Regions from separate parts of the Homo sapiens genome. Here region 2 is linked to region 1. The links are contacts of gene promoters, found by promoter capture Hi-C in human tissues and cell types (Jung and others, 2019). All regions are on one chromosome and are shown on one strand. The core of a region is centred on a gene start or on the middle of the fragment in contact, and the rest is flanking DNA. Distances in the headings are between cores, read along the strand shown.

Region 1 (5,317 bases), core at 1,836-4,335:
AACTCCATCTCAAAAAAAAAAAAAAAAAGAAAAAAAAATAGTCACATGGGAACACTTCTAGGAGGTATCAAGTTTCATCACATAAAATTTAGCATTAAACTCAAAAATCAAAATACCAGGATATAGAACCAGGCACGACAGCTCACATCTGTAATCCCAGCACTTTGGGAAGCTAAGGTGGAAAAATCATGAGGGCAGGAATTTGAGAGCATCCTGGGCCACATGGTGAAACCCCATCTCTACTAAAAATACAAAAATTAGCTGGGAGTGGTGGTGCACGTCTGTAATCCCAGCTACTGGGGAGCTGAGACAGGAGAATTCCTTGAATGTTTGAATCCAGGAGGCAGAGGTTGCAGTGAGCTGAGATCACACCATTGCATACCAGCCTGGGCGACAGAGCAAGATTTCGACTCATAAATAAGACAAAAAAAAACCCTTAGGTCAAAATAAGTGAACAAAGCTTTTCAAGATACAGATATGTCTTCCTCATGTGTCAAGTCAGGCCATTCAATTACTTGAGAGATTGTCCCATCCCATCCTGCTCACTTAAGTGCTCAATAACCCCCTCTCAGGAGACTCTGAACTATGCCCCAGTGAGTGCCTCAGGCACATTATACTCTGCAAGTTCTTACGCCATCTAACTGGGGTCAGTTTTTTGGTTTTTTGGGTTTTTTTTTGTTTTTTGTCTTTTGGAGTGCTGGGTATTTTTTTTCTAGAAATTTTTTTACTATTTTTCTTGCACTATTTTTCTGCCCCCTAAAGGAATCCAGGAGGCAGAAATTATTTGTTTTCTCCTCAATACTAGTATCTGATTGGCTGGCCAGCAATGTGTCTCCAAGAAATGAAAGCTGAATTGGGTGAAGGCAATATTAATGTCTCAAGGAATTAACTTTAAAAAAAAGTGCACCAGGAAATGCCTCTCAGCCTCAGGGCATCCACGTCCACACTTGAGAAGCTAAACTCAATACCTCAGGTTGTCCTATGAGAGAATATGACCCAGAAGCTGATATTCACTAGACACTCTAGCACACATAGCCATGGTGGGTATCTTGGTTTATCCCCATACAGTACTGAAATCTAGGTCCAAGAAAAAACTGAAGGGTGACTGAAGACACATCACCCTATACAGTTTCCAAAAGGAAAACCTGACCCAAAAACATTCTGGTAAGATAGCTGCGTCTAGGGAAAATAGACGAAAAAAACGCACAGAGATATTTTACCATACAGTGTCAGGAGATTATTCTTTGCTTTCTTCTCACAGGGAGTATTTACCAAAAAAAACAAATCTTTTTAAATGTGCCATCAAATGCTTTGTCAAAAAAAAAATTAATTGGCCAGATGCGGTGGCTCACGTCTGTAATCCCAGCTCTTTGGGAGGCCGAAGTGGGCAGACCAGCTGAGGCCAGGAGTTCGAGACCAGCCTGGCCAACATAGTGAAACCCTGTCTGTACTAAAAATACAAAAATTAGCCAGACGTGGTCGTGGGCACCTGTAAGTCCAGCTACTTGGGAGACTGAGAGAGGAGAATCATTTGAGCCCAGTAGGCGGAGGTTGTAGTGAGCCTAGTGCGTCACTGCACTCCAGCCTGGGTGACAGAGCAAGGCTCTGTCTCAAAAATTAAAAATAAAAATGATTAAAATCGGTATCAAAATGTACACTACAGGACAAATAGTTGATAAAGTGAATTAGGGAGGGGAAATTGGCATTTGGGAATGTCAGACGAAACTGGAAATTTAGTATTTTACTGCAAGCCAGAGTTAGGCTGGAGGAACAGGGGATGAGGGGTGGACTTGAGGCCCTGCTTGAGACACATGTAAAAAATTCAGGGAAAAATCGTCCCCTTTTGAGTGTGAGAAAAATTAAGTGGCAGGCAATTAGATTGAGGTGGCTCTAGTCCTCGGATTTCTACTTCTAAAAATAAAAATCTAAACTCAAGAGCATTTTTTGGTAAATTACTACATTGGCAGAAGCAAAATTTAGGCTTAAGCAACTATAAACTGCCAATTAAGCTCTGATTACATAAGAAGGATATTTCCACCTAGATTGTAAAAATTAAGAAACTAGGCCAGGTGCGGTGGTTCACGCCTGTAATTCCAGCACTTTCGGAGGCCAAGGTGGGTGGATCACCTAAGGTCAGGAGTTCCAGACCAGCCTGGCCAACAAGGTGAAACCCCGTCTCTCCGAAAAATAAAAAAATTGGCCTGGTGTGGTGGCAGGCGCCTGTAATCCCAGCTACTAGGGCTGAGGCAGGAGAATCGCTTGAACCCGGAAGGCAGAGGTTGCGGTGAGCCGAGATCACGCCACTGCACTCCAGCCCGCGCGAGAGAGCAAAACTCCTTTTCAAAAAACAAAACAAAACAAAACCTACATAACTGTACCTAGCAAATTACTGAATTTGGTTTTCTTTACCATGAACCTTATAAAAATATCTCCTTCAAGGCCTTTCATAGACCACAAATTACAAACCATAGCTGGGTGCTCTACAATGTTTGAATCACTCTTTGATTAAATTATTTAATCTTTTCGCGGTGACGCCCATAAATTTTTAATAGAAAAAAAGAGGCCCTGGGAACCCCACGGACTAAAGTGCTTCCTATTCATGAGCCAGCACCTCCAGTCAGGATTCTCCCCTGACGACCCTCCCGTGATCCCTGCACAATCTGGGAGAGACGCGGCGCTGCGGGAGCAGAGCTGCCCAGAGAGGGCTCCAGGCCAGGACACAGTCACTGGGCAGGGAAGAGACAGGACGCCCGGAGCCCGCCTGTCAACGCAGCCGCCATCTTATCGCTGAAGGGGACTGAGGCCGAGCTGGGCAAGGAGAACCCGGGCACGGATTGTGGAGCTGACTGAAGGAAGGCCTGAGGCTCGCCACAGCCGCATCCCACCGGTTTCAACGAGCCCCGTTCCCTCTCTCGGGACGTCGCACCTGGCAGTCTCACCATTTCTAGGCTTCCAGGGGTTCCTGGCATCTTAGCTGTGGCTCTCCAATACCTGCAGGTCACAGGGCCACACAGGCTGGGCCTCCTGGAGCAGAGGACACAGAGCAGTGAAGTCGAGACCTGGAAACTCCGGCGGCAGCGAGAGACAAAGGCCCAGCCACATCCCGGAAGCCGCCCTGTCCGCTCCAGCTTTGTGCCTGATTGGACAGTTCCCAGCCCAGCGTCCCTGATTAGATAACGTTTAAGGCCCCGCCTTCTCAGGCCCTGAGTGACAGAAGATGTGATCAGACACTGGGCTGAATGAAGAAAGAGTGACAGCGTAGGCTGCAGCCTTTTCAGGCAGGGCTTCCTCAGCTCAGCCAGGCCCACCTCAGAGCATGGGAAAATCCTCTCTCTTCTTTGCTCTCTTTCAATGTATTCAAAATGTGAACAAAAATATTTGATGTATATTAATAATACATAAAATTTTTGTTCCAGAGAAAATCAACTTTTACTTTATTGTGTATTATCAATAATAAAGCTAATTTGATAAAACATTGTAAGTCTCTCAGCCGGGCGCCGTGGCTCACACCTGTAATCCCAACACTTTGGGAGGCCGAGGCAGGTGGATCTCCTGAGGTCAGGAGTCCGAGACCAGTCTGGCTAACATGGTGAAACCCCATCTCTACTAAAAATACAAAATTATTGAGCATGGTGGTGCGTGCCTGTAATCCCAACTACTCGGGAGGCTGAGGCAGGAGAATTGCTAGAACCCGGGAGGCCAAGGTTGCAGTAAGCCTAGATCGCGCCAATACATTCCAGACTGAACAATAAGAGTGAAATTCCATTTCAAAAAAATGAAAAATAAAATATAAAAATTAGCTGAGCATGGTGGCACACGTCTGTAATCCCAGCTACTCCGGAGGCTGAGGCAGGAGAATCGCCTGAACCCGGGAGGCGGAGGTTGTAGTGAGTTGAGATCATGCCACTGCACCCCAGCAAAAAATAAAAATAAAAATACATTAAAATTTTTTTGACCTCTCTAGATTTTTATACATATTTTATGATCTCTTATAATTTTTTAATTTTTTTTTTTTGAGACTGAGTCTTGCTCTGTGGCCCAGGCTGAAGTCCAGCGGCACGATCTCGGCTCACTGCAACCTCTGCCTTTCAGGTCCAAGGGATTCTCCTCCCTCAGCCTCTGGAGTAGCTGGGATGACAGGTGCACCACCACACCTGACTAATTTTTTGTATTTTTAGTAGAGATGCGGTTTCACCATGTTGGCCAGGCTGGTCTCGAACTCCTGGCCTCAGGTGATCCACCTGCCTTAGCCTCCCAAAGTAGTGGGATTACATGGGTAAGCCATGATGCCGGTCCATTGTTTAACTTTTTATATTTCATTTTAATCTACATTATTTTTACTTTTTCAATTTGAAGGAACCTTTAAGTAATTTCAAAGCAGACAAATGTTTCTAACTTTCTTCATCAAAAGCATATTTTGCTTTTGTTTATACTCTCTCTATTTTCTTTTAATTTCCAAGAGAGAAGCTTGTTCTGTCACCCAGGCTGAAGTGCAGTGGCATGATTTCAGCTCACTGCAACCTCCACCTCCCAGATTCAAGCGATTCTCCAGCCTCAGCTTCTGGAGTAGCTGGGATTACAGGCGTGCGCGATCATGCCCGGTTTATTTCCTTATTTGAAGTAGTGACTGGAATTTGCCATGTTGCTCAGGCTGGTCTCGATCTCCTAAGCTCAAAATGATCTGCCTATCTCGGCCTCCTAAAGTGTTGGGATTACAAGGCGTGAGCCACAACACCTGGCCTTAAACATTCTCTTTGAAGAATTAGTTTTTTTACATCTAGTGGTCTTTTATTAATTACATTAACCCTTAACAAACTAATTTTTAGTGAAATCCCTAGGAAGTAATTTTGAACTGTTTTATATTAATATTTGTAGATAAAAAACATTTATATATTTTAATGTTAAATACAGTGAGTTCTAAATTGCTCTTCAAAGAATCAGTATGTCAGTATATTCAGCTCCCTGTTCTTCATTCTCCATTTTAAAGTTTAACTTCTTTGTTGTTTTTGTCTCCAGTTTTAGTAAACAACCTTCCCGCCAGTTCTAATCAGTAGTTTACATCTGTACCCCTGGTCACCTGCTCCATCCTGAGTCACCCCTGGTCACCTGCTCTGACCTGAGTCACCTTGGTCACCTGTTCCATAACAGTAGTTCCCACCCAAACTGCTCACCCCACCACTCTGGCTTGTACTCCTCCTCTCTTTAAAATAGCCAATGGGAATTAGCTTAGACTGTGCAGTCCAACCCTAGCCAATAGGGGAATGACACAGCAGTAGGGGCTACCTGCATCAGGGCTAAGAACTCCTTTCCCTCCCTT
Region 2 (5,353 bases), core at 1,261-3,760, 1.6 Mb before region 1:
TAATAATAATACAAAAATTAGCTGAATGTGGAGGTGTGCACCTGTAATCTCAGCAACTTGGGAGGCTGGTGAAAGAGAATGGCTTGTACCCGGGAGGGGGAGGTTGCAGTGAGCCTAGATCACGCCATTGCACTCCAGCCTGGGCAACAGAGTGAGACTCTGTCTCAAAAAAAAAAAAAAATTACATACCATAATCAAGTAATATTTTTTCACAAAATAAGTGTTGGCTTAATATTTAATAAATATTCTCTAACATATTACAAAATATTATTTGCCCCCATTTTCTGCATCTGCTCACCCTGTTCAGAACCCAAGGTGCCATGCTGCTTCTGCATCTCTAAGAAGCCAGGTGCCCGACCATGAGAACTAGGAGGAAGGGAGTTGAAGGAGCCAGAATAGGAGGCGTGCTGTGGAAGCAGGAGTGACCAGACCTCCAGGCACAGGATACCCAGGACAGAGGGGACAGCAGGGCTGGGAGCTCCATGGGTCAGGCAATAACAGGTGCCAGAAGTTGCCACCATTTCACACCTCAGGCAGGGGCACTGGGGCAAATCTGAAGGCACTCACGGACTGGGTGCTCCAGAAATGGACAAAGCAGTAGCTCCAGCTTGGCATTGCATGGCCATTATCATGACCAAACAATGGGGAGAAAAACTGACTCTCCAACAAATGGTTCAGAAAACTCAATATTTAAATTAAAAAAAAAAAAAAAAAGCTCTCTTTCTCTGAACATTATACAGAAAAAGCCTATGTATGCAAAGCAGGAACTAGAAGTAATATTTGCACACCCATGGTTATAACAGTATTATAAGAGCCCCAATATATATATGACTGATGCTGCCATCTGTGTCCTCACAGTGATGCAATGACAGCATCCTGTGTACACACACAGAGCTAATACCATGAATTCACTCACTGAGCCCATGACTTAATCTGAAACCTAGACAACTGGTACTGAAATTCTCCCCGCTCAGTGAATCCATAGGGAATCACTTGACTTTAATATCTTGTTGGGTTTGGGTTTGCATGCAATAGCTTAAGAAGTCTTTTTTTTTTTTTTTTTTTCTTTTTGCTATTTCATAGGACTTTTTCAGAATGTGGAAAACAAAAACAAATCCAGAAGACTTTCCCACTGTCTGCTACCTTTGCCCCAGACTATCTTAAACTTATATGCTTATATTTTATTAAACAAAACAGGTGCTCTCTACAATCTCTGTGATAATTATGAGGTATTTGAAGCAAGATATAAAGAGTGGTTTCATGTTTTAACTTAATCTTTTTTGAGGTTGGAATGGTTCACTTTAATGAAAGATTTTTTGTTTTAATGTTCTCTGTTGTTTTAAAATGTGAACTTGTGCACACATGTGCAGACTCAATGTTCTTGCTAAAAACATAAACTACATAATTAATATAAACAACATAATACACATAATTAATAAATATATAAACAACATAATAAATAAATACTAATATAAAGATTCTTATAGTCACTAGGCCTTCTTTTTTTCTTTTCTTTTTTTTCTCTTTTTTTTTTTTTTGTTTTTGAGACGGAGTTTCGCTCTGTCGCCCAGGCTGGAGTGCAGTGGTGCGACCTTGGCTCACTGCAATCTCCGCCTCAAGGGTTGAAGCGATTCTCCCGCCTCAACCTCCTGAGTAGCTAGGATTACAGGTGCCTGCCACCATGCATGGCTAATTTTTGTATTTTTAGTAGAGACGGAGTTTCACCATATTGGTCAGGCTGGTCTTGAACTGACCTCAGGCGATCTGCCCGCCTCGGCCTCCCAAAGTACTAAGATTACAGGCGTGAGCCACTGCGCCTGGCCTTTCTTTCTTTCTTTTTTTTTTTTTGAGATGGAGTTTTGCTCTTGTTGCCCAGGCTGGAGTGCAATGGCTTGATCTCGGATCACCGAAACCTCCACCTCCTGGGTTCAAGCAATTCTCCTGCCTCAGCCTCCTGAGTAGCTGGGACTACAGGCGCCCACCACCATGCCTGGCTAATTTTGTGTTTTTAGTATTTTGTATATTAGGGGTTTCTCCGTGTTGGTCAGGCTGGTCTCAAACTCCTGAACTCAGGTGTTCGATACAGGCGTGACCCACCATGCCCAGCCACCAGTCCGTGTTATTGTTAAGTGTCAGTGGGCATCAGTTGCTAAAGTTTGTAATACTTGCTGAGTCAGTTCAAGCCATATTTTGTCATCTAATCTCTCATAAGCTGACCCCTTATTTTTGGCATTATTCCTGTTGATTCCTAGTGTTGACCATTGACCTCCACCTATTCAAACTTACTGTGGCCAGTGGACAGAAAGACATTCAGTGCTCTGGACATAGAGTGTTTCACTAATCTTACCTTCCATAATTCAGTCTATAGAAGATTAGAAATAAGGCTTCCTTCCTTATTCAAGAGAATGCTTTCATGTGCACTCTTGATTTTCTGTCAGTAAGGGCAGATAAGTACACACAGTCTTCAGTCATATATATTAAAAAAAAAAAAAAAAAAAACTAGAGGGCGGGCGCAGTGGCTCACGCCTGTAATCGCAGAACTTTGGGAGGCCGAGGCGGGCGGATCACGAGGTCAGGAGATCGAGACCATCCTGACTAACACAGTGAAACCCCGTCTCTACTAAAAATACAAAAAATTAGCCGGGCGTGGTGGTGGGCACCTGTAGTCCCAGCTACTGAGGAGGCTGAGGCAGGAGAATGCTGTGAACCTGGGAGGTGGAGCTCGTAGTGAGCCGAGATCGCACCACTGCACTCCAGCCTGGGCGACAAAGCGAGACTCCATCTCAAAAAAAAAAAAAAAAAAAAAAAAGGAAAAAATTAAAAAAATAAGGCACCCAAGACCATACAAAAATGGGAATTTTCTAAGTCTATACGAAATACATTTCCTATAATTGCTGAGCTTTTATTTATTTATTTATTTTTGAGACGAAGTCTCGCTCTGTCGCCCAGGCTGAAGTGCAATGGTGCGGTCTCAGCTCATTGCAACCTCCGTCTGCCGGGTTCAAGCGATTCTTCTGCCTCAGCCTCCTCAGTAGCTGGGATTACAGGCATGCACCACTGTGCCAGGCTAATTTTTGTATTTTTAGTAGAGATGGGGTTTCACCATGTTGGCCAGGATGGTCTCGATTTCTTGACCTCGTGATCTGCCTGCCTCGGCCTCCCAAAGTGCTGGGATTACAAGTGTGAGCCACCGCGCCCCATCTACAGTACTTTTTTAGAGTAAAATTTGAAATACATAATTATCTCGAGATTAACGTAGAATTTAATAGATTATCTAATAGTCCTGACTAATTTTAGTAGTTCTAGCTCTATTCTTACTGAATTTTATTACCTTATAGTCCCTAAATAAGCCAACTTTAAGAGAAATATAGTAAACTTCCTAGATTTTGAGAAATGTTTGAGTCATTACCTGATGCAAATAATAGACATAGACATGAACGAGTTACAAAAGAGGAATAATATTTTTGATGTGCATAAAAACTTTTTAAAACTGAATCTTTTAGTACTCTCTCTATGTAGATGAGTCTAGGAAACAGAATAGGAACTAATAAATTGCAATTTTCTGCAGTGGAAGATATCTGCAATCACTAGAAGCAACTGAATCAGAAAAGCTGAAATGGCCTGCGGCAACCTCAGAAAGCAAAAAACAGGCTTGTGTGGACAGAATGCATACTCACTAATAGCAGAATGACAGAGAGATTACTTTTTAATGAATATCTGTGACATTAATTCTTTTGCATCAGAACTTGATTTTCATTCTAAACTTTCCCACTATGCAAACATGTATATACAAACAGGCACACACACATCCTCACATTCTTACACTCATGCAAATTCAACCAGATTTTCTGCAGCCAGGATATCTTTAAGTACACCAGATTAAACTAGATAATTTAGGGATTATCTGAACCCACCAGAGCAATTGCTTGTTTACTTTCTCTGTAAATGTAACATCAGTATTTCCTAGATGTCCCACTGATATCTTAATTACAACTTTCTGATAAACTACTAGTGAGAAAGAATTTGAAACAGACCCTTTTTCTAGACATATTTTATGACTCTAAAATTTATTTCTATTATAGAATATAGAAGACATTAACTTATTTGGCAAAAAAGAATCACAAGTCACAAACTTGCAAAAATTAAATTAATGGTGCAGATAAAGTTGTAAAATTAAATTAATGATGCAGATAAAGTTGTTAAATATCTGAAATTACTAGAATTGAATTCCAGAAACCCCTGACATCTAAGTTAATATATCAAAAAGGTTAAATAATTTAAACAATTTATATTCCTGGATAACACCTTGATTTCTAGTGTCTTTAAATTATTAAAAACATTTCAGCCAAGTATGGTGGCTCACACCTGTAATCCCGGCACTTGGGGGGGCTGAGGTAGGTGCATCACCTGAGGTCGGGAGTTGGAGACCAGCCTGACCAACATGGAGAAACCTTGTTTCTACTAAAAATACAAAAAATTAGCCAGGCTTGGTGATGCATGACTGTAATCCCAGCTACTTGGGAGGCTGAGGCAGGAGAATCACTTGAACCTGGGAGGCGGAGATGGTGGTGAGCTGAGATCACGCCATTGCATTCCAGCCTGGGCAACAAGAGCAAAACTCCGTCTCAAAAAAAAAAAAAAAAGAAAAAAAAGATACCATTTCTTTGTAAGTCTGGCTCTGTTTTCAAAGTGAATATTGTTGTAAATCATTTATATTCTTCTCCTCAAATGCTTTACTTCCCATTTTTGTCTTAGGGAATCTGAGCATATCTTGAAAAAAAGGTCTATGGGAACAATGACCCTACCAGAGGTTTCTTATGGTTTCGCACAGTTTTGTGATTAAGGAAGGGAATGATCTTAGCAAAATGGCAGAAACATTGACAATTCAAAACTGATACTGAAAGGCATATTTCCAGGTGGAAATGCAAGACAGAAGTAGAATGATTGAGAATGTGGAAAACAGCACTTGCATAGAATGCTGTTTTGAGCTTTAAGTGTAAAGAATTCCTGCTTTGAATCATTAAGGGATTTTTACGTTATTCATCTGGTGTAAAACACAACACAGATAAAGAGAGTCAGTAAATGGAAGGTTGTTTTTATTTTACCAAAATCTTATATTATTTTCTAATATTAATTTACTTAGTTCCTGACAACTAAATAACTATTTTGTGCAATGAATGGTATTTAATGTTGATGGGTGCAAAGCTTAAGACAAAGAACAAGGAACAAAAATTTCTGCAGCTTGTTACTATTTACAAAGCACAAAATTCAAATGCATTTTTAAATTTAATACTCAAACAACCTTATAAAATTCTTTTTTTTTTTTTTAGACGGAGTCTCACTCTGTCGCCCA

Evidence for each region. The method cuts DNA at HindIII sites, captures the fragments that hold promoters and counts their contacts. A contact is called where the count stands out against the background at its distance.
Region 2: a contact is called between a fragment that was not itself captured here and the fragment with the promoter of ZNF91 in region 1, in 1 of the 25 tissues and cell types used here (aorta).

Annotation. Positions count from the first base shown.
Region 1 is chr19:23,392,386-23,397,702 of GRCh38, forward strand. It overlaps ZNF91 (zinc finger protein 91), which reads right to left and starts at 3,086. Exons shown (of 4, transcript NM_003430.4): 1 at 2,940-3,086. The coding sequence starts at 2,969. RefSeq lists an enhancer at 2,488-3,356. The HindIII fragment of the contact is 10,945 bases long and covers 1-5,317 here.
Region 2 is chr19:21,780,229-21,785,581 of GRCh38, forward strand. No RefSeq gene overlaps it. Among named protein-coding and RNA genes, the nearest start is that of ZNF100, 15 kb to the left of the region's middle. The HindIII fragment of the contact is 6,966 bases long and covers 1-5,353 here.